3 separate regions of the Homo sapiens genome follow, and regions 1 and 2 are each linked to region 3. Evidence: promoter capture Hi-C in 16 types of primary human blood cells and fetal thymus (Javierre and others, 2016). All regions are on one chromosome and are shown on one strand. The core of a region is centred on a gene start or on the middle of the fragment in contact, and the rest is flanking DNA. Distances in the headings are between cores, read along the strand shown. Region 1 overlaps CCN6 (cellular communication network factor 6). Region 2 has its middle 29 kb from the start of CCN6. Region 3 holds the start of FYN (FYN proto-oncogene, Src family tyrosine kinase).

Evidence for each region. Contacts are between HindIII fragments. The CHiCAGO score rates a contact against its expected background, and 5 or more counts as called.
Region 1: a contact is called between a fragment that was not itself captured here and the fragment with the promoter of FYN in region 3, in 2 of 17 cell types (total CD8 T cells and non-activated CD4 T cells). The highest score is 5.8, in total CD8 T cells.
Region 2: a contact is called between a fragment that was not itself captured here and the fragment with the promoter of FYN in region 3, in 6 of 17 cell types (total CD8 T cells, activated CD4 T cells, naive CD8 T cells and 3 more). The highest score is 8.2, in total CD8 T cells.

The regions. Positions count from the first base shown.
Region 1 is chr6:112,063,555-112,066,254 of GRCh38, forward strand. It overlaps CCN6 (cellular communication network factor 6), which reads left to right. Exons shown (of 5, transcript NM_198239.2): 3 at 1,201-1,443. Among named protein-coding and RNA genes, the nearest start is that of CCN6, 11 kb to the left of the region's middle. The HindIII fragment of the contact is 4,008 bases long and covers 1-2,700 here.
Region 2 is chr6:112,023,357-112,026,056 of GRCh38, forward strand. No RefSeq gene overlaps it. Among named protein-coding and RNA genes, the nearest start is that of CCN6, 29 kb to the right of the region's middle. The HindIII fragment of the contact is 8,615 bases long and covers 1-2,700 here.
Region 3 is chr6:111,872,127-111,874,826 of GRCh38, forward strand. FYN (FYN proto-oncogene, Src family tyrosine kinase) reads right to left here and starts at 1,326. Exons shown (of 14, transcript NM_002037.5): 1 at 842-1,326. LOC102724646 (a long non-coding RNA gene) reads left to right here and starts at 1,326. Exons shown (of 3, transcript NR_168402.1): 1 at 1,326-1,564. RefSeq lists silencers at 446-845, 996-1,245, 1,366-1,455 and an enhancer at 898-1,397. The HindIII fragment of the contact is 15,284 bases long and covers 1-2,700 here.

The sequences.
Region 1 (2,700 bases), core at 30-2,529, 190 kb after region 3:
CAGAAAAGTCTACATATTGGATAAATATAAAGTTTTCAGTGATGGATACAAGTTTTCCAAAATTCTAATTTTTCCTTGAAATCTTGAATTCTCGCATTGGCAAAAAATGCTGTCACAGTTGTTTTCCTTGAAGTGACAGGCTCAGTTTGCTCATCTTCAAAAAAAATTTCCAAAATACACAAGTCTGAATAACCAGTTTATCATCAGTCATTTCTTCAAGTAAAATTCCCACTAAAAAAAGTGGTTAGCTCAGCTCACAACTTTACCAATGACATAGTTCCTTAAGTTTCCCTGAGAGAGCAGTTTGCTGAAGTTTCAAGACAGCTGTTGCACTAAAATATTCTATGTATATTTCCTATTTTGTCACGTAGAATATTAAAGAGACCAGTATTTGATGATTAAGATTTAATAAAATTAATACTTTTTGCTGTGCCATCAAGGACATTCTTAGGTAAAACTTCCCCCACCCCTTTTAAAGTATAAGTACCTGGCAAGGAAAAATACAAGATTACCTCTACAGTTTGATTCATGCCAAGGCACCAGCAGTTCAGTTTTAGCCACAGTTGCTTTTGTAGCACCGGTGCAAATACCAACACAGTGAAAAAGGCCAGCCACATCTTAGTATTTGGAAAAGAGTTTTGACCTTGCAGATCCCCTAAAAGTGTCTCAGGTACTGCCAAGGGATTAGAGGACCACACTTGGGGAACAGCCTATCCAGAAAGTCAAGAATACCCATCAGAGGAAGGGAAACTCTCCTGCAATCTCTTAACAAAAACCATCAGTACCTTGCGGTTCTGTAGTTAACTAACGTATAGTTTCTTCAGACATTCACTTATCCTGTCTTCCTAAGACTATATCCTAGCCTATTGTTGGATGTCTGAGAAAACCTGTCTCACTAGGCATTAACCTGTCTCAGATTTATTATCAACCACTATACTTATGGTGATTTTACAGGGTCTTTACTTGGTCTTAATTCTGGAAGTGACCATGTGGGGTTTATAGCCTGCAATATAATAAAAATGCCTCACTTTAGAAACCTTTCTACAGATGTCCTGTGAAGGAGGTTCCAAATGGAACCTAAGAGGTTGAGAGCTATACTTCATACAGGAGATGATCCGTTTCTTCTTAGGTTTATAATTGGAGGTCTAGACTATCACAGATCATGGCTTCTTTGGCAATTTTGCTCTTTTCTCTTTTCAGACCTTGTAGCTGTTGGGTGCGAGTTCAACCAGGTACATTATCATAATGGCCAAGTGTTTCAGCCCAACCCCTTGTTCAGCTGCCTCTGTGTGAGTGGGGCCATTGGATGCACACCTCTGTTCATACCAAAGCTGGCTGGCAGTCACTGCTCTGGAGCTAAAGGTGGAAAGAAGTCTGATCAGTCAAACTGTAGCCTGGAACCATTACTACAGCAGCTTTCAACAAGCTACAAAACAATGCCAGGTGCTCAGAAGTAGAGCTATTTTTCACGTATGACCTTGGTGGTATTCCTTCATGTTCCTTTTACGTATCATAGGTACTCAGTAAGTACTTGTTGATTGGTGGTCAGAGTGAGATATAGTTTGAGTGTATCATTTTACTTAATCTTTGCCTCAGACAGGGATAAATATCTGCAAAGGAAATTTTATAATGTTTTAGAATTTTCTGGTAAAACATTTAAAAACATTTTTAAAAGATCTACTAGGTCAGGAAGCTCTACTAAAATCTTACACCTCTGCTTATTTCTAACCTCTTCTCAGGAAAATTGACCAAATATTGTTCACATGTACCCTAGAACAACTTATTTTTATTGTTCTATTATGGGCAAGAAGTTTGACCATTCACTTCCCCAAATTTTAAAAGGTAACATTTCTATGTGATACAGGCAGAAATGGGAGGCTACTGCTGAAAAATATTTAAGAACTGACACATATTTTGAACTTGTAAATATTATTTCTAAAAATAGAAATCTCGTAGGAAGTCCTTTCCCTCACTCTGAAATTGAAGCTCAATTGTTAATCTCTCTGTAAACACACACACACAAACACACACACGCACACACACACAAACACACACGCACACACACACGCACGCACACACACACACACACAAACACACACATGCACACACACAGGCATTTTTAAGTAGGTTACCCATGTATCTATGTTCTCAGAAAAATGAAGTGTGATCCTTCATTACTCATCTTGTGTATCTGGCCATTTCAAACAGCTTAAGTATACTTATAAACCTTGTATTCTGGTCTGCTCTAAGTTAGCATTTTATTTAAGCATCAGCATATTTTGGGAACAGGAGTTTCAGAACCACCAGCAAATAAAGTATAGAGGAGGAGGGACTCAAAAGGGGCAACATCGAAGTCTGGTTCTTGTTCACATCTCTGTGTTCTCATCCAGAAATCAAGAATGCCTTTTTCTTAAAGTTTAGAGCTTAGTGAGAGGTGCCATGGAAATGCAGAATACTTGAATATGTTAACAACTCATGAGTTCACTTTTATTAAGTGGATATTTAATAAAGGCAACTATAAGCAGAGAAATGAGTTTAGATATTTAAGAACTAACTCTATGAAAGGAACATCCTCAGCAACTCCAGTTTTGTCAGTAAATTAGAAAAAAAATTTACTAGGTTGTTGTGAATTTGCATTTACTATACATGTTCAGTTGACAGCATGACACTGTTAATGCTCTGAAATCTCTGAAATTATAA
Region 2 (2,700 bases), core at 20-2,519, 150 kb after region 3:
TAGGTGGCTTCCATGTCTTAGCTATTGTGAATAATGCTGCAGTGAACATGGAAGTGCAGACATGTCTTTGAGATTCAGACTTCAATTTCTTTGGATGTACACCCAGAAGTAGGATTACTGGATCAAACGCTAATTCTATTTTTAATTTTTTGAGGGGACATCTTATTTTTCTATACTCACTTCTGAGGTGTTCCAGGCTTATGACATTAAATGCCACCTATATACTGATAAGTTATAGATTTAGGCCTTCAGCTTGTACCGCTTCCTGAAATCCAGACTTATATAGGGAATTGCTTATGCAGCATTGCCACTTGGATATCTGTGGTAGGCTGAATCATGACTCTCTCCAAAAGATATTCATGCCCTAATCCCTGCAACCTTTATATGTCACCTTACATGTCGAAGAGCTAATGTGATTACATTAAGGATCTTGAAGTGGAGGGATTATCCCAGTTTTTCTGGGTGGACCCTAAATGCAATCACATGTATCCTTACAAGAGGGAGGTACAGGGAGATTTGACATACTGAAGAGGAGAAAGCAATGTGACAACAGAGGCAGAGACTGAAGTGATGCAGCCACAAGCCAAGGAATGCTGGCAACCACCAGAAGCTGGAAGAAGCAAGGAACAGATTCATCCCACTGCCCCGGGAGGGAGCGTGGTCCTGCCAATACCTCGATTTCAGCCCAGTGAAACAGATTTAGAACTCCTGGTCTTTAGAACTCTGGGATAATGTTTTTATTGTTTGAAGCCACCAAGTTTCTGGTAATTTTTTATAGCAGCCCTAGAAAACAAATGCAATATTCAATAGGCATCTCAAACCCTACATATCCAGAGCTGAACTGCCTGCAAATCTGCTCATCTCCTTGTCCTCCCTGTCTCAGAGAAAAGAAAATTCTATTCTTTTAGTTGTTCAGGTCAAAAACCCTAGAATCATCCATAACTCTTCTTTTTATTTCATACTTCACGTCCTACTTAGTGAATCTTATTTGCTCTACTTTGAAAATATATTCAGAATCAACATTGCTACTGAGCCACTGTCACCTCTTGTTTGAATTATTGCAACAGCCTCCTAACTTGTCTCCCTGCATCCTCCTTTGCCTCAGACACAGTCTAGAAGAGACCGCATGGCAGCCAACGATCTTTCTTATGCCTCCCTGTTGCACTCAAAGCAGAAGCCACAGTTGTTACTGTGATTTCAAGGCCCTCTGTGACTTGGCCCCTAGTACCTCCCTCAACTCCATCTCATACCCTTTCTCACTCCATTTCAGCCACACTGGCCTGTTCTGTTCCTTCAATATTCTAAGCACACTTCTGCCTCAGGGCCTTTGCACTTGCTGCGTCCTCTGCTCACCTCCCAGATATCTGATGGCTCACTCCTTCACCTCTTTCGGATCTTTATTCAAATGTCACCTTCTCAGTGAGGACTCCCTGGCCACCTTATCTAGTATTGCATCCCTAGTAAATACCCCACCCCAAACATATCCATGCTTTGACTTTCTTTATAGCATTTATAACTCTCTGACATACTATATATAGACTTATTTACTTGGTTGTTCATCTTTCTGTCTTACTGGAGTATAAGTTCCATGAAGATATGGACTTTTGTTAATTTTATCTATTGTCATATTCCCAATGTCTAAAACTGTACCTAGCACATGATAGATGTTCAATAAATACTTTCGAATGACTGAATGGATTTCTAGTGGTGCTTTTGGCCGGGAAAAGAGAGATATTCATCCTCTTATCCAAGAAGACCCGTGGAACCCACAAACCTTTTAACTAATTAAGATTCACTGATGGCCTACAGCTAAGAGAGAGCCGTGTTGGTTAAGCAGAGGATCCTTTGTTTAAAATGAAAAAAATAATAATAATTCTTGAATTTTCTTTGGCCTCAGTCACTCTCCCATTAGCTGTTTCAGTCCTTCATTCTTATTTATTTCCCTTAAAAGTTTTCCTGCTCTTTTGAATTTCCCAGGTTGTGTAAGTTACAGGAACGCTAGAAATGCTCAAGAGAAAGTGATGAAAATCTAGAATCATTTTGCTTTTGAAGTTTCAGTATTAGGAAACAATAAAATAACATAAAATACTTTTCCCCATAGGTCACACCTGGCCGTGTGAGTGCCACAGCTCTGCACCATGCATGGGGAAGTTGCTCGGTATCTAGTGAATCCAAGTAATTGCAAAGCCACCTCACATTCATTGCTCTTGCTGGCCACCTGAGTGCTTTTGTGTATCCATGCTCTGCACTGAAGATAAATTATGAAATGTCCCAACACAACGATGGGTTGTAAATTAGGACTTATTATGTCAGAACTTGGGACATCTACTCCCATCACTGTCACATCGAATAGGAGAGAATTTTGAACATTATAAGACATCATTGGTCTTCTGTGCCAAGGACTGATCTAAGCACTATGTAAGTATTAATTAATTTAATTCTCATAACAACTCCATGAAGTAGGGACCATTACTAATATCATTTTTAAAAAATGAAACCGAAGCACAAAGAGGTTAATTTGCCACAGGTCATCTAGGGCTGCCATAACAATGTACTACAAATTGGGTGGCCTAAACAACAGAAATGTATTGTCTTACAGTTCTGGAGGCCAGAAGTCGAAATCACAGTCTCGGCAGGGATGTGCTCCCCGTGAAGATGCTAGGGAAAGATCTGTTCGAGGCCTCTCTCCAGGCTTTTGGT
Region 3 (2,700 bases), core at 76-2,575:
AGAAGGGTGATTTTATTATCCCTCTTCCCAGTGAGTCCCAGCACATCTCTGCTGGGCCCAAGCTCGGTGGCCTCCTTCTGGCCCAGTCCCCTCCGCCTGTGGCCGCAGAGATAACAGAGGGGAGGAGCCCAAACAAAAACAGCCATGGATCTAGGGAAGTAGAGAGGAAATCCAGCGAGGGAGCCGGAAAGGAAGGAGAAAAGAGCTGGAGGGAGCAGAGGGGTGGGGGACAGAGGAAGAGGAGGGAAGGCTCCAGCACAGGGGAAAGGGGAAGGGTGGGTGGGTGGTGGCACAGGAAGAGTGAAGGGGAGGATGGGGGAAGTGCAAGGGAGGTGCCAGAAATAGGCAGGAGGATGGGTTGGAGAAGGCGACCGCCGCCGAGGGAGGAGGCCGAGAGGTGGAGGAGTGGGGCAGGGGTTGGGTGGGGAGGGAAGCAGCACGGGGCATCAATTATTAAGTGATTACATCATCCCTGACATTAAAACAACACACACAGCCCCAGTCCCCGCGGGGGGCCCCAAAAGGAGGGCGGGGGCGGAGTCTGGGCCAGCCTCGCCCCCAAGCCAATTCCCATTTTCACCCGGCGCCCGCTTGCGGGCGAGGAAATGGGGTCCCCATCCCCGCGCTGCCTCGGGGCCGCACCCCGCAGGGGTGTCCTCCGGTGCAACCGCGGGAAGACCCCAAGCACCGACTCCCCGGCAGCCCCGCGGAGCGCCCTGGCGGCCAAGGGACCGCAGCACCGGGCCCTGCGGCGGGGGCGGCGTGCGCGGGGGCGCCGGCGGCCGGGCTTCTCCGCAGCATCCCCGAGGCCTCCCGCGACGCATCCCCGCCGCCTGCTTACCTGCGCGGCGCTGAGGCTCCGGAGCCCACTCACATGGTCCTCTCCCCGCCCTCCTCCGGCGCGGCCGAGGCGGCTCCGGGGGGTCCCCGGCGGGCCCGGGAGCCGGTGGGCCTTCCGAGAGCACCGAGGGGGCGGCGCCGGGGTGTCCCCGGCCCGGCGGCCGAATCCCTCCCTGGCGCGGGCGGCGGCCGCCGGGCGGTGCGGCGCGGGCGGCGGCTTTGTGTGCGCCCGGGCGGTCCTCGGTGCGCTGGGAGAAGCGCGGCGCGCCCGGGCGGGAGAGGACGCGCCGCTCGCACAACAACCTCGCCTCTACTCTCGCCGCCGGGCGGCGGGCGGGTCTCGAAGGCCTTCGGCTCGCGGCGACCCCTCCTCCTCGCCCGCGGCAGCCCCCTCCTCGCCGGCTCCGCTCCTGACAGATGGCGCAACTGCAACGACGCGCCGCCGCCACCAGCGCGGCTGCTCGCTGCTACTCTTGCTGATGCTCTGCCCCTCCAGCTCCGGAGGGGAGCGAGGAGGGGGCGGGGCGCGCCTCGAGAGTGACAGGCCCGGCTGCCCTATCAAAGAGCCCCTTGGGAGCTGCGAGCCGCAACCATTGGCGCCTGGGGCGTGGGCGGGACGGCAGTAGGTGGGGCCGCCGAGTGGGTTGAGCGTTACTGTGGCAGCGGGCATCCCAGGGTGCGTGCGGTGCAGGGTGTGCAAGAAAATGCGAGGTTGGAGGAGGAGGTCTGTGTGTTTTTAAGGATTGTGTGGAGTTGTGAGGTGGCGGAGTAGGGCGGGAGAAAGAGCGGAGAGTGTGAACTGCAGTTTCCGCTTTGCGGAAGGTTGCAGCTGCTGCTGCAGATTGGCACCTGCCATTCCCCCAAAACCATGGGAAACTGCCTCGAGACAGGGCTATCTTGCCTTTCTGGTGTCTTTTCATTTGAGGGTGAGAGGATGAAATGGAAAATTGGGCGGTGATAGCAGCGTTTTCTTTGATCAAACTGAAAAGAGTACGGAGCAAAGTAGAATCCTGTCCTGAAACGTGGAAACGCACAACAAATAACAATGAGGAGGAGAAGGAGATTAGGATCATTTTATCAGTCCCCTATTTCTGCGGACACTCATTTATATTTTTTTTCTAGCAAAAGTCTGGAGGAAGTATTACTGAAATAGGGGGAGGGGCCAAGCGGCGACTAAGGAACCTGAAATGACAGAGATTTGTTCGTACATTCCCCGCCCCACCCCCAAAAAACCTCGTTTAATTGTAGTCATTGGTTGTCTTTGGTTTCTCATAACATTCAAACTTCTCATGTTTTTTTCCCCTTCACTGAATCTGAGCTTTTGCTCATATTTCCCTTGATGAAATAATTGCCGGTTTAGTATACAGTTGGGAGTGCATCGGTCTTTATTTCCTATCCAGCTTTTCTATGGCAGGATGTAACTTCATAAAAAGAAACACTTTGGCTTCCTGATTTTCTTTATAGGTAATTCCTGTTTACTGAAAGTTCTGCTTTAAGGCATACTCAGAATCGCTCTCCTTAATGATTTTGGCAAGAACCCTACCTTCCCCCTCAGCAAATCTAATGTTCTAAGAAATTATAAGTGAATCAGCTTCTGCTTCTGTGCTCAAAATCTATAATATTGCCTTTCCGGCCCACTACTTGTTTTTACTGTAGTTTAAAAAAATCTGTCCCTTTTGCTGACTTTTTTCTTTTTGTACACACTACTTTTTAAGAAAAGTTGCTAACATTTATTAAATGATCTGCATCCTATGGAGGAGGAAACTGAGGAAAAGAAAAGTTAAGTAACTAACTCAAGGTGACAGTATACAGAGGTTACTGGATTTTTTTCCTTTTCCTTAAACAAAATGACAAATTAAA